Linked DNA regions of Homo sapiens: all the other regions are linked to region 1. Evidence: promoter capture Hi-C in 16 types of primary human blood cells and fetal thymus (Javierre and others, 2016). All regions are on one chromosome and are shown on one strand. Each heading gives the region's core, a stretch centred on a gene start or on the middle of the fragment in contact. The rest is flanking DNA. Distances are from core to core; before and after follow the strand shown. Region 1 holds the start of PIN4 (peptidylprolyl cis/trans isomerase, NIMA-interacting 4). Region 2 holds the start of CITED1 (Cbp/p300 interacting transactivator with Glu/Asp rich carboxy-terminal domain 1). Region 3 overlaps NHSL2 (NHS like 2). Region 4 overlaps NHSL2 (NHS like 2).

The links. The method cuts DNA at HindIII sites, captures the fragments that hold promoters and counts their contacts. A CHiCAGO score of 5 or more calls a contact.
Region 2: the fragment with the promoter of CITED1 here is called in contact with the fragment with the promoter of PIN4 in region 1 in 7 of 17 cell types (total B cells, naive B cells, activated CD4 T cells and 4 more); the score reaches 9.5 in total B cells.
Region 3: a fragment that was not itself captured here is called in contact with the fragment with the promoter of PIN4 in region 1 in 1 of 17 cell types (total B cells); the score reaches 5.2 in total B cells.
Region 4: a contact is called between a fragment that was not itself captured here and the fragment with the promoter of PIN4 in region 1, in 1 of 17 cell types (neutrophils). The highest score is 5.5, in neutrophils.

What each region holds. Positions count from the first base shown.
Region 1 is chrX:72,179,916-72,183,022 of GRCh38, forward strand. It overlaps PIN4 (peptidylprolyl cis/trans isomerase, NIMA-interacting 4), which reads left to right and starts at 1,842. Exons shown (of 4, transcript NM_006223.4): 1 at 1,842-1,913. The coding sequence starts at 1,871. RefSeq lists an enhancer at 1,882-2,101. The HindIII fragment of the contact is 4,711 bases long and covers 1-1,860 here.
Region 2 is chrX:72,304,259-72,307,224 of GRCh38, forward strand. CITED1 (Cbp/p300 interacting transactivator with Glu/Asp rich carboxy-terminal domain 1) reads right to left here and starts at 1,656. Exons shown (of 3, transcript NM_001144887.2): 1 at 1,567-1,656. LOC105373250 (a long non-coding RNA gene) reads left to right here and starts at 1,844. Exons shown (of 3, transcript XR_938441.2): 1 at 1,844-1,962. RefSeq lists a silencer at 2,641-2,935 and an enhancer at 2,662-2,711. The HindIII fragment of the contact is 8,247 bases long and covers 1-2,966 here.
Region 3 is chrX:72,094,694-72,097,678 of GRCh38, forward strand. All of the region lies in intron 1 of NHSL2 (NHS like 2), which reads left to right. Among named protein-coding and RNA genes, the nearest start is that of RTL5, 36 kb to the right of the region's middle. The HindIII fragment of the contact is 8,021 bases long and covers 1-2,985 here.
Region 4 is chrX:72,060,444-72,063,466 of GRCh38, forward strand. All of the region lies in intron 1 of NHSL2 (NHS like 2), which reads left to right. Among named protein-coding and RNA genes, the nearest start is that of RTL5, 70 kb to the right of the region's middle. RefSeq lists a silencer at 176-470. The HindIII fragment of the contact is 4,014 bases long and covers 1-3,023 here.

The sequences.
Region 1 (3,107 bases), core at 592-3,091:
ATTGTCCTATGACCCTGCCAAATCCCCCTCTGCGAGAAACACCCAAGAATGATCAATAAAAAAAAAAAATAAAAAATAAAAAATAAAAAAAAAAAAAAAAGAAAGAAAAATCAAAAGTAAATGTTCCTCTTGGGCCTCTTGGCCATAGATAACCTGATGAACACAAGGCTACGCTGTCATCGTCAACACCCAATCCCAACTCCCCCGCCCCTCCATCTCGCAGCCGAACTTGGAGAATTAGTACAGGTGCGGGATCCACTTCAGAAGTGGCAGAGCAATGATCCCCTCACCACTAGATGTGTCCTCCGCAGTTGATCACTCCCAATCCGAAAACAAGGAGTGCCCAAAATGTGTCCAGAATTTAAAGCAGCCAAACATAAGAGGGCTCCATGTTATGTCTTGAGTAGGGAATGAGCACAGTCTCAGAAACACCTGATTCCCTGGTATGAGCATGAAGCATCTCCAGGTCCAGCAAGGCTGCATCCAAAAACTAAACTCTGAGCTGGAAGACCTCTATATTCTGGCTGGTAGTGGCAAGCTAGGACAGCTCTCTCATGGACTGGAGGAAACGCCCTGACATATCATATACAAATTATTGATGGTGGGAGGGATTGTAAGGGGAGAAAAAGTGTGTGGGCACAAATTCAAAAATCATTTATCTTAGGCAAACATTATTAATATGAGCAAGCCATCATTTTATGTGCTTTACAGATATGAACTTGTTTAATTCTCTTAACACCTGATAGGATAATAGTAGGTACTATTATCATCAACTCCATTTCACAGATGATGAAACTGAGCCAAAGAGAGGTGAAGTAACTTCCTCAAGGTCATGGAGCTAGTAGACAGATGTGGAGCAGGGATTTGAAACTGGGCAATCTGGCTCCAGAATCCATGCTTTTACTACACTATGCTGCACCATTATGGAAATTTTGGAAAATACACAGAAACAAACACGATGACCTGTATGCACTAGCACCACTGGCCACATCTTGCTCTATAGCTTTCCTCTCCTTTATATTCATATAACATACAATACATTACATATACTTCTTTTACAAGGAATCATATTCTTTATCTTGGTCTTAAAAACATTTCCCCTATCTGTACACACAGCCTTACAATCGTTATTTTGAATGTTGTATAATATCTTCTTGTGTGGCTAAAACATTATTTAAGCAGTACCCGACTGAGGAGCACTCAGACTGCTTCCAATGTTTCTCCATGACTGAGCTCTGCAAGACGCAAAAAGGTGACAGGCTTTTTTAAAAACTACCTTTTGAACCTAATTAGCTACAACTGCAGAATAAAATTAACAAACGAAAAACTGCCAGGGAGGGCAGCCCTGTGTGTAGGAGGAGACAGCGGAAGTTGGCCGCCACCACAGTACTCCTGCTTCCCTTTGTCTGGCGGCCCCGCGGGATTGGCCAGAGCTGGCGCCGAGGGACTGCAGAGCCACCCACCCCCGTGGCTCCTACTGCGCACGCGTGAAAAAAGCCAGGTTGAGGGGAACGGGGGAGCTTCGGGCGTAGAGTGTGGGGAGTGGGGGATCTGGTGCAAATTAGGGTGCGTGAAAGAAGTCACAAAAAGCGCAGAGGCCAGGCTTCCCGCCCTAATCCGGCCTTTGTCTCCGCCCCTCTGCCTTTGTTTCGGCCCAAGCGTCTTATTGGTCAGACATCTTCAGCCCCATTGGTCCAAGAGCCAAAGGACGGGGTCTGCCCCAAGCTGTGCCTGCTTCCGGAGCCGCAATAAGAACGGTCAATTGAGATGCGGCTTTCAGGCATTTGTTTAGGACATGCCCATGGCGGGGCTTCTAAAGGGGCTTGTACGGCAACTGGAGCGGTTCAGCGTTCAACAACAAGCTTCCAAGATGCCGCCCAAAGGAAAAAGTGGTTCTGGAAAAGCGGGGAAAGGTAGAGCGGCCAGAGCGATCAAGGAGAATGGGGGCGGGTGAGGAGCGAAGGGAGGGAACAGACAGTCCATCTCCGGAGTCCGGGACGGACGCAGCAGGTAGCCAGTGGCCCCACAGTGCTGCCATCGATTACATCTGTAGGAATACATTGGGCTACGGTTCAGGGACCGTCCTAGTGGGTAATGGAATCTGATGGGGATAGTTCCTCGGAGGCGATGACTTAGGGCTGCTATTTCAAGGGGTTATTAGAGCTCTAAAATTGGGTCTTATCAAAAGCCAGCAATAGGAAGTACACATTGGTTATGGTCCTTAAAGTTCACTTTAATGCTTACAGAATGACATGCCCACCATCGGGGAAGGAATCATTCATCCATTGAACAGAAATGTGTCAGGCAGAGTGCTAAGCGCTGAGGATACACAAATAAGACAGAAGGCTGGGCGCGGTGGCTCACGCCTATAATCCCAGCACTTTGGGAGGCCGAGGGAGGATGGATCACGAGGTCAGGAGTTCGAGACCAGCTTGGCCAACATGGCGAAACCCCGTCTCTACTAAAAATACAAAAATTCGCCAGGCGTGGTGGTGGTGCGCGCCCGTAATCCCAGCTACTCGGGAGGCTGAGGCAGGAGAATCGCTTGAACTCGGGAGGCAGAGGTTGCAATGAACCGAGATCGCGCCACTGCACTCCAGCCTGGGCGACAGAGCGAGCCTCTGTCTCAAAAAAAAAAAAGAGATTTTGGCCTTAAGGAGCTCCCGAAGTAGTGAGGAAGATAAAGGCTTAGTGATCATAAAGCACTGTACTAAATGTAGTGTTGAGGGATGTGTATGGGATATAATAGAAATTGAGGGAAGTCCTTCATTTAGCTGGGGAACAGGGAACGGAAGACTTCCTGGAGATGAATTAGGCAGGTCAAGATGTGCATTGAGGGTAGGTTAAAGCATTCCTTACTTGGGGTCCAGCAGCAAAAGCACTGAGGTGAGAAACAGCATGATGTGTGCAGCGTAGTGTTGCTGGAGCAAAAACTCAAGGCAGAATGGCAAGTGGTGAGAATGAAAACAGAAACAAAGACGAGATCATGGAGAGTGCTATATATTCTGCTAAGAAGGACAGTTAAGGATCAGAAAGACCTGTAAGGAGATTGTTGTGGTAGTCTTGGTGAGAGATGATGGTGGACTGACCTAAGGGAGTGGCTGTGG
Region 2 (2,966 bases), core at 406-2,905, 120 kb after region 1:
TACTACCTCTCTGTATCATCTTTGCATTGCTTACTTGGGTGGATGGGGGTAGGGGAGGGAAAAAATAGAGAAAGGGGTAAACATTTTTTTAAAAACATGAGGAAAAAATATCAGCTGTTGGGTCCCGCATCATTGCTTGATTGAAGCCCTGCTCCTTCTCTGAGGCAACCGTAGAAAAATATTTCAAAAGCAAGTGATCACCAGACAAGAAGTCTAACACATGTCGTCTTCAAGAGCCCTAGCACAATCAGTATCAGACAATTTTCCTGTCCTAAGAAAAATGTCTGGGGGCCCTGTCCATCTTTTCCTGTTCCTATCCAGCCTTCCCTCTCCTTTTTGCCGCTTGGTACCCGAATGTACAAAACGAAGAAAAAACAACAGGAGCAGCAGCAACAACAGCAAAACCAAAAGAGAAACATTAGAAAAATCAAAAGAGAGAACGAGCAAAAAAACTCTCTCTATTCTGATATCAGTTCGTGGGGGAAGACCATTTTACCGCGCCTCCCTCTTCAATCTGGGAGCTCCCCCAGAAGAGGCCCTGTGTCCATTCAGATCTTCTGCCTTCCATTACTGACCCACCACCCACCCTGACCCCAGCCTGGGTCTGCGCTCAATAGGCGCTCAGTAAGTGTTGTTGAATGCGTCTGAAGAAGCAATCGCATTTCCATCGGCATCCCTGGCTCTGCTTCCCCGGCTTTCTGCCCTCCTCCACCACCCTCTAGCCCGTTCGTGGGCAAAACTTGGCAACGCGGAAACGTCCCAGCCCGCTCTCCAAGCCGCGAGCTGACCACTGCGAAACGGCTGCGACAGGCGGCTGGGAAACCTAGAGCAACAAGTGCCTTCTCGCCGGCTGATGCCTGGCGGCCCCCCGGCCACCAGTTCCCAGTCCCGCTGCCCGCTCTTCGCTTCAGGCCTTCCCTTGGGCGAGCAGCCCCCTCCCGCCTAGACAGGGGTGGGAAGGGGAGAGGGAAAAGAGAAGGGAGAGGCAGGTGGGGGCCTCATCTTTAACCTGTTGGGGGACCAAAAGTTAAAATGGCACCAACCGGATGGTTCCATCTCGATTGCTATTTTCTCACTCAGAAGGAGAAATTTAAAAATCCAAACAGCACTGCGGCTTGGCTTGGACGCGCTCTAACCAGACCAGTCAGTTTCGCCACCTGAAAACTAAAGGCCCGTTGTTTGCGGACAGCTCGGCTGCCCTCCTCGCCGCATCCCAGATGGAGCCGCGGAACCGGGGGCGGCCGGGAGCATCCCTTGCACGGCGGGCGCGTGCACCCAGGCCACCGGGGCCCTGAGCGTCCGTTCCCGCAAGTGCTGTATCAGGAACTGATCTTAGAGACAGGATGGACAGGCAGGAAGGGGCACGGGGTGTCGGCCTCCGCGGCGAGTCCGCACTCCGGCGCCGGCTGCTGCCACTCTCGCGCCTGATCAACACTTACTGAGCGCCCGCTGAGCATCCGACGCGGCAGCAGGCTGAGCCTACCCCCTAGCCAAGCCGCCTGCGGTCAGTGCTAAAACCCCGCTAGGAGAAGAGTGAGAGAGGCTCGGAGAGGTGCGGTAACTTGCCCAAGGTCACAGCGCTAGAAAGTGGCGGAGCCGGGATTCGCAGCCAGGTCTCTCTGACTCCAAGTCCGGTGCTCTGCGAAGCAGGGACTCGGCGCGCGGCTCGCCAGCCCGCGTTTATAGGGAGAGGGGTGTGCGCGTGGGTGTGTGTGTGTGGGCGTGTGTCGGGGGAGGGGAGGGCTGAGGTCGACTGGGCAGTAGAGGCAAGTTGCCCAAATTCGCTAACTTCCATCCCGCAATTCCGCTGAACTCGGCCCGAAAAGCCCCCTCTTGCCTCAATTCCCCGAAGTAAATCTGAGCTTTGTGCAGCTCCGGAGCCAGAGCGTCCAGATGCGGTCCGGGAGATTAGCAAAGTCGGTGGAAGCCAAGCTGGAGAAAGCGCGGGCGCAGGGAGAAAAGGTGCTGCCGTCTCCCCGGGAGAAGCGGGCACCCGGCCCCGCTGGCCGGCAGGGGGGCGCGCTGGCAAGCGAACCCGAGCGCTGGCGGGCGGGCGGGCGGGCGGCCCCTCGCCCCCAGCAGAGCAGCTTTCCAACAGAAAGCAAGTCTCCCCAGAACCCTCCGGCCCGCCTGGCGGCCGCCCACTCCCCATACCCGCTCCACGGGAGTCCTCGGCCCCGCCGCCCAGCCCGGCGCCCAGCCCGGCGGCCCGGCTTACCTCTGAGAAGCCGCCTGCCCTGGAGAGAGGGAAGCGCGGAGCTCGGTGAGCCGCAAGAGAGGCGGCGGAGCCCCCAGCCCCTGGCACGCACGCCGCCGCCACCGCTACCGCGAACCGGTCGCGCTCAGCGCCCGCGGCCGCGCCGTTGGCCACCCGACCCCGGGGCGCCTGGGAAAAGCCCGCACCGCGCCGCGCCGCCGCTGCACCGCACAGTGCCGCGCCAAGCAGCCCCTGACCGAGCTGGTGCCCGCCCGCCCGCCCGCAGCTTCGGCGCCGGACTCCGGGGCGGTGGCGGTGGCGGCCACCGCGCTCCCTTCCCGGCGCTGGGGACCCGGCTCTCAAGCCCCCATTGCCGCCCGGAGAGCCCTGACGCACACGCACACGGCAGCAGACTGGCCTCGGCTAGGAATCCCAGGAAGGACAGACCCTTTTTTTCCCTTTTTTTTTCTCCCCTCAATTTCCACGTCTTTATAACCGGCTTAGGGCATTATTAGCACATGTCCTGGCTCGTGGGCGAGTTGGTGGCAAAATCTGAACTGGATACTCACGGAGGGCCCGCGCGGGTGCTGTGCCGTCCGCTGCTCTCTTCCTCCTCACCGAGAACTGCCCCTCGCCGGCGGACTACAAGAGGGCAGCCGGGCAGAGCGAGCTTCCTCTCGGCAGCTCAGCGGTGCCCCTTCTGCAGCTTTGCCGCCGGGCACATTTTTATAGCAGCGGCTGGCGTCTGTGGCCCTTTAAAGGCGCTCGA
Region 3 (2,985 bases), core at 122-2,621, 86 kb before region 1:
ATCTATTGCTTGAGTAACCTTATGATTCTCGACTTCCAGGCCCAAGAGAATGATAACCAAATTTTTGCAGTTGTCACCCTAACACTGGGACCTGCCTGCCTGTCCATCATGGAGCTCTAAGTATACTTGAACCACATGTGAGGAGTAATTGGGGCAAATTTTAGATTCAACCCTGGATTTGGCAATGCCCTTTACCATGAGCCCACCATTGCAACGCAGGGTGCAGTAAAGCAAGAGCATTGCAAAGCTCTTTCTGAAACCAGAATTTTGCCATAATGCCTCCTGCTAACAGTGTTGCCTGATTAGCAGACACAATGGGACCATCAGGCCTTATCAGCACCACTTGGTCTAAAACAGAAACCAGGAAGGGCTGTCTCTCAGTGCTTGGCCCCTGTTGCCATGGCCCCTGTTGCCATGGTTCCCAAGCACTTTTGCTTATGATTTCTCTCAATCGCTTATAGCATCCATCAGCAAGCAGGACCTAGAAGCTCTTTCGGGCAGACTGAGAAGAAAGCTGTAAACAGGAAAGATAAGAGCAAGTAAGGGAAGTAATTAAACGAGCAAACAAGAAATGTAGATGGAAAGAATTTGGGGTGAGGCCCAGAAAACAGCTTTTGTTATGTAAAAGAAATCTTCTTGAGATGTGATAGACCAAGGTGTCTGGGTCAGAATTTGCCAAGAAGTGCCCATTATGTAGCTGCCATGTGGTATAGGTACAGCAACTCTGTGCCCTGGATTTTCCAGAAAAGTCCCAGTTTCAAGTATTTTATTCTGTTTGTCAGACCAAGAATTCTGATTTGAGATTCAGAAAATAAGGTCACTGTAGTTAGAGTAGTCATCCAGGAAAGCCTGATTTAGAATCCATTGTCCTCCCGGGCTGGTTGGCAGGGAATCCCCACAGGACTTGCCTCTAGGGCCCTGAAGGCCTGAGTAAAGTAGCCCCTTATACAGCCAAGAAATATCAAAGTGCCTCTCAACTCCATGCCCTCCACACTCCCGTAGCTCTCTGAGGGGTTTAGCCAGAAAGGCATGGGCTTTTGACCCCCATAGACCTGGATTTCAATATGCTCTGCATTAACTCTGCCAACATAGGCAATGCTCTGAGCCTCAATTTCCTCATCTGCAAAATGAGAGCAATAACACAGGGTTATGACAGGGTTATTCTGAGCATCAAATGAAGTTTTTGTTACCTTTAAAGCACTGTACAAATGTGCACTGCTAAAATCCATTCCTTCATTCAACAAATAAGTGTCTACTACATGCCAGGCATGAGGCCAGGCCTGAGATTACAGTGGTCATCAAAACAGACAGGGTTCCTGCTGGCACCCTGAGCTTTCAGGTCACAGGGGTAGACATATTAGCCAAAGATCTCCTCATCCGAGGTCCAAGCAGAAGGGAGATGCAGTAGGGCTGCTCTTTTAAAAAGCTGACTGTGGCTGCTTCGTAGAGCCAGAGGGCAGGAGAGGGGGCTGGGAGGCCACTTAGGAGACTTCTGCCTGCAATAGTGGCTTGGTCTAGGGTGGTGGCAGTGCTGATGGTAAGAAATGGCCAGATTCTGGACAGATTTGGTAAGTAGAATCAACGGAACTTGGTGACGGACTAACTTTTGGGAGTGAGGAAGAGGCAAGGAGATATTTTAGCTAACTGTGTCCCCAGGACTTGGGCCACTGGAGCCCATAAAGCCAATCCCAAGGCTGGTGAGGTACAATGTATGGAGGGTCCATTTCTCCTTATCTCGCCTCTGTAGAGCAGTATGATGTCAGTCCTTCAGTCCAGAAATCAGCTTGCTAGACTTAATCTGAAAAAAGCATTTAGTACTTAAAAATTGTATAGGATAATATATGGCATTCTAGCTTTATGTTGAACGCAGAATTCCTCTTAAAGGTAAATTGTTTGCTTCCAATTTTTAAGTTGTTTTAAAATTGACAAATGTAATTATTTGTACATATACATGGGGTATACAGATAATGTATAGTGATCAGATCAGGGTAATTAGCATACCCATTATCTCAAACATTTATCATTTCTTTGTGTTGGGAACATTCAGTATCCTCCTTCTAGCTATTTGAAACTATATATTATCATTTGGGTTTTTTAATTCTTTCTTCTTTTAGAGACTGGGTCTCACTGTGTTGCCCAGGCTGGACTCAAACTCCTGGGCTCACGCGATCGTCCTGCCTCAGCCTCCCGAGTAGCTGGGACTACAAGCACATGCCACCATGCCTAGAAATGATACGTGATTTTTAACTATAGTCATCCTGCAATGGCATAGAACACTAGAACTTTTTCCTCCTCCCCAGCTGTAATTTTGTATAATTTAACAAATCTCTTCCTAGCCCTCCAATTTTTGAATGGGATATTACTTTAAAAATAGCTGAGTTACCATTAACTTAGGATGCTGAAAACGTTCTTCAGTCTAGGTGATCTCTTCTGGGACCAACATATGTTCTTTGAATTGGATTCCTTTCAAACCTTGGGCCCAGTAGTTTTTGTACCAACAGGTTGGAAGAGAAGAGGGCCCAAAAGGGGAAGAAATGGGAAGGGCCACAGACAAACTTAAGTTTCATAACAGTTAACCACACTTAACCGCAGTTAACTATGCTTTACAGCTTCCAGGGGAATTTCACATATATCATTTGTTGTCATATTCTGCAAATTCAGGACCATGGCTGTCTCCTGACTCCCCGTCCAGTGTTCCTGCTACTGATTGCACTGCCAGGTTCTTAACTTTTTGGGGGAGAAGGGGGAGGGGAAGGTCTCTCTGTGATAAACAAAAAAGTTCCAACAGACATTCAAAACCCTTCTTTATTCTAAAGAATTTATTCCATTTGCATTGAGAAGGAGTGTAAAAGAAAATTTGGTATTTTCCCACACCACTTGTCCCCTACACACATCAACAGGTCTTTCATTTCTCAGTTCTTGCAGACCCACCCTTCGGAAGCTATTATCTGCTTGACAGTCTGCTGAGACCTCTTGTCTTTCTTC
Region 4 (3,023 bases), core at 264-2,763, 120 kb before region 1:
CCTCTCTGGGCTTTGGTTTCTTCCTATACTTGTAACATAAAGAAGTTTTGTTTTACAGCAGTTGGGTGTTTCCATTTTCTGTCATTGAATTGGGAAAATGATCAGGTCATGCCAACCTGGGATGCTGCGTGTTGTGGAAGTTAGGCATATCTGACAACGGGAAATACTTCCTGAAGACACAGCCTTCGGACCCCTGGTTACCTAGAAGGGAGCTCAGGACTCCTCATCGACAAACATAAAACCAGCTCCCTGCCCACTGCCCAACCTCCAGGAGATGCCCCCACAGGCTTGTGTGAGCCCAAGGCAGGCCTCAAGCTGATTCAAGGGCCCAGCTGCCCGTTGCCATGGCAACATTCCAGCTCGCTTTGCATAGTGACAGGGATGCTAGGCTTTGCTAACAAAGTGCTCTGTAAAGGACTTCATGTCTTTGGCAGGGACAATTCCGCCTTCTTTTTCACATGAATAACTCTGGGGGCTGTGAGGAGGGATTTGGCAAGTCACTTCCCCTGTCTTGGCCTGCGCCCTTGGGTTTTCCTTGAAGGCACAAGTTGGCAGCTTTTTATTTTTCTATTTCCAAATATACCATCACTACCCTCCTCCTGACCACTCCCCACTCCAAAGGAAAGAATGGTTTTTCCCTTACTTAGAGCTCTGGTGAACTCGGTGTGTTTATGAAAATGGAAGGAATGGACTGTTCGAATCACTCACATACCCTTGGCTGATTGCTGGATCAAATTGTCCTCAATCCCTTTTTCTTTTTTCGGAATGCCCAATGTTTTTCAGGATTGAAACAGGAAGACCCTATATTGTCCTGGTGAATTACTCCCTGGAGCAGGAAACATATTTGGAATCCTGAGTAGGCTGGGAAGGAAGCCAGGCAGACCTGGGTGAATCCTGCTTTCATCACTTACAAGCTGTGTGATCTTTGGCAAGTTACTTAACTTCCCCTAATCTCAGTTTTCTCATACGTGCAATGGGGATGGTAATACAGCCTTCATGGGTATGATGGTGAAATTGTTATGAGGTTTAAATATATCTTATGCTTGCCTGCTTCTCTCTGTTTCCGTCACCCTGATCCTGGCCCATCATCTTTTGCCTGGACTACTACGATAGCCTCCTGCCCATTTCTACTGGAACTTCCCTCCAGCCCTTTGTTTACATAGCAGACATGGTGGTCTTTTAAACATTTAAATCATATCCTGTCGCTCCCTTGCTTAAAATGCTCTAATGGTTTCCCATTGCACTTCAGATAACATCCACCTCTTACCCCCTACCTCTTCCACCCTAGACATGCTGGCTTCCTTTCCATTTCTCAAAGACATCGAGGTCCCTCTCACTTCGTGGCCTCATGGCCTTGGCACTTTCTGTTCCCTCTGCCAGCTCCTTCTCAGGCTCAGTTCTTAGCTCGGAGAGAACTTCTCTTACCACTCATCCAAACTAGCTCCCCATGCCTGCCCCATCCCTTGCCATCACACATCACCATGCTGATTTCCTTCATGGCACTTCTCAGGAACTAGTCCTACCTTGATTATTCGTGTACTTGGTTATTGTCTGTCTCCTCTGCCTGGATTGTAAACTCTTTACATCTGCCTCATTAACCTCTATCACCCACTGCCCAGCACAGGGCCTAATATAATAGGCTCAATAAAATCTATTGAATGAATGAATGAGGTAGGTAGAGCATTGAGAACAAAGCCTGAAAGATAATAGAGTGCAATACATGTTTGTTACTTTCTTTTTGTCTTCTTCCATCATCTGGTTGTAAGGCAGAGGGTGGTGTGCTAGACCTGTGGCCTCCAAAGTGGATATATCGTCTATTAGGGTGCAAGGAGAAAATATTAGAATTTCTATTAACAGTCATCTTTATCATATCCTAATTTCCATGTTTGTTTATGTTTTAAATTTTATAAAACTGATTAGCACAGTAGTACATATATATGGTTTATACATAAATATGTATATATGGGAGTATAGGCTCAAAAATACTTGGAGACCACAGCTGGTGGGAAGCAAACTGGCAGACTGTTGGCAGAATGTGAACTACAGATAGGTTGGGTTGAGTCAGCAGAGAGGTTTCCCAGATTGGAGGTTGAGTGCCTTGGGAACAGGGTTGGGGGTGGCCAGCATGCATGCTCCAGGTCTCCACCACACCCTGTGGCTTACCCTAGCCTACTTCATTCATGGCCCTGTCCTTCCTGACCATTACAGGCGTGTGCATTTCCAACCCTAGAGAGGGTTTCCTTTGCAAGTCTAGAGAACCTTCTATTCTGGAAATTGGTGCTGGTCGATCCCAAGGGGGAGGTATGTGGGAAAGACTGAGGCCTAGGAGCCCCCTGTGGGCAGCAGCTGGGGCTTCTCATTCTTGTGTCCTCTGTAACCAGAATAGTACCTGGAACAGAGTGGGTGCTTGGATCATCAGAGAACCTGCTTGTTGACTAATATCAGTGCATAGGACAACCCCCTCTGAGTGTCTGAGCTGAGAGGACCCTCAGGAGGTAATTAGGTTCATATGTTTCACTGTCCGGATGGAAACTAAATGGGGCTCAAAATGGCCAGGGCCTGCCCAAGGTCATAGAGCCTCCCGCCAGCACTCTTTCCCTTGTGTCTGCGTCTCTGCTTAGCCTCTGGGGTGTATGCTTATTCACGATCCAGGCCTTGGCTGGTTCCACCCCCTTGGCCTTGGCCTACTACTCTTAACACCAGCTCTCAGAAGGCGTTCTGGCTTCTTACTGGGATAGGGGCCAAAAAAGAAAAACATTTCCCAAATCATAATTCTACAGCCTCCTGCCTCCCCCAAACTCACTTTCTATGTAACTAATCCCCGTGTTCCTTGGCCATTAATGACATCACTGCCTTTCTGGTCACTTTGGCCCAAAATACAAAGTGTTCTACCTCCCTTGAGTAGGGGCTACTATGTGTCAGGCACTTTCTAAAAAATAAACTTTGTATGGGCAATTAACATACAAAAAAGCCACACACGTTGATGAATGATCACAAATTATACACACCCATGTACACACTTC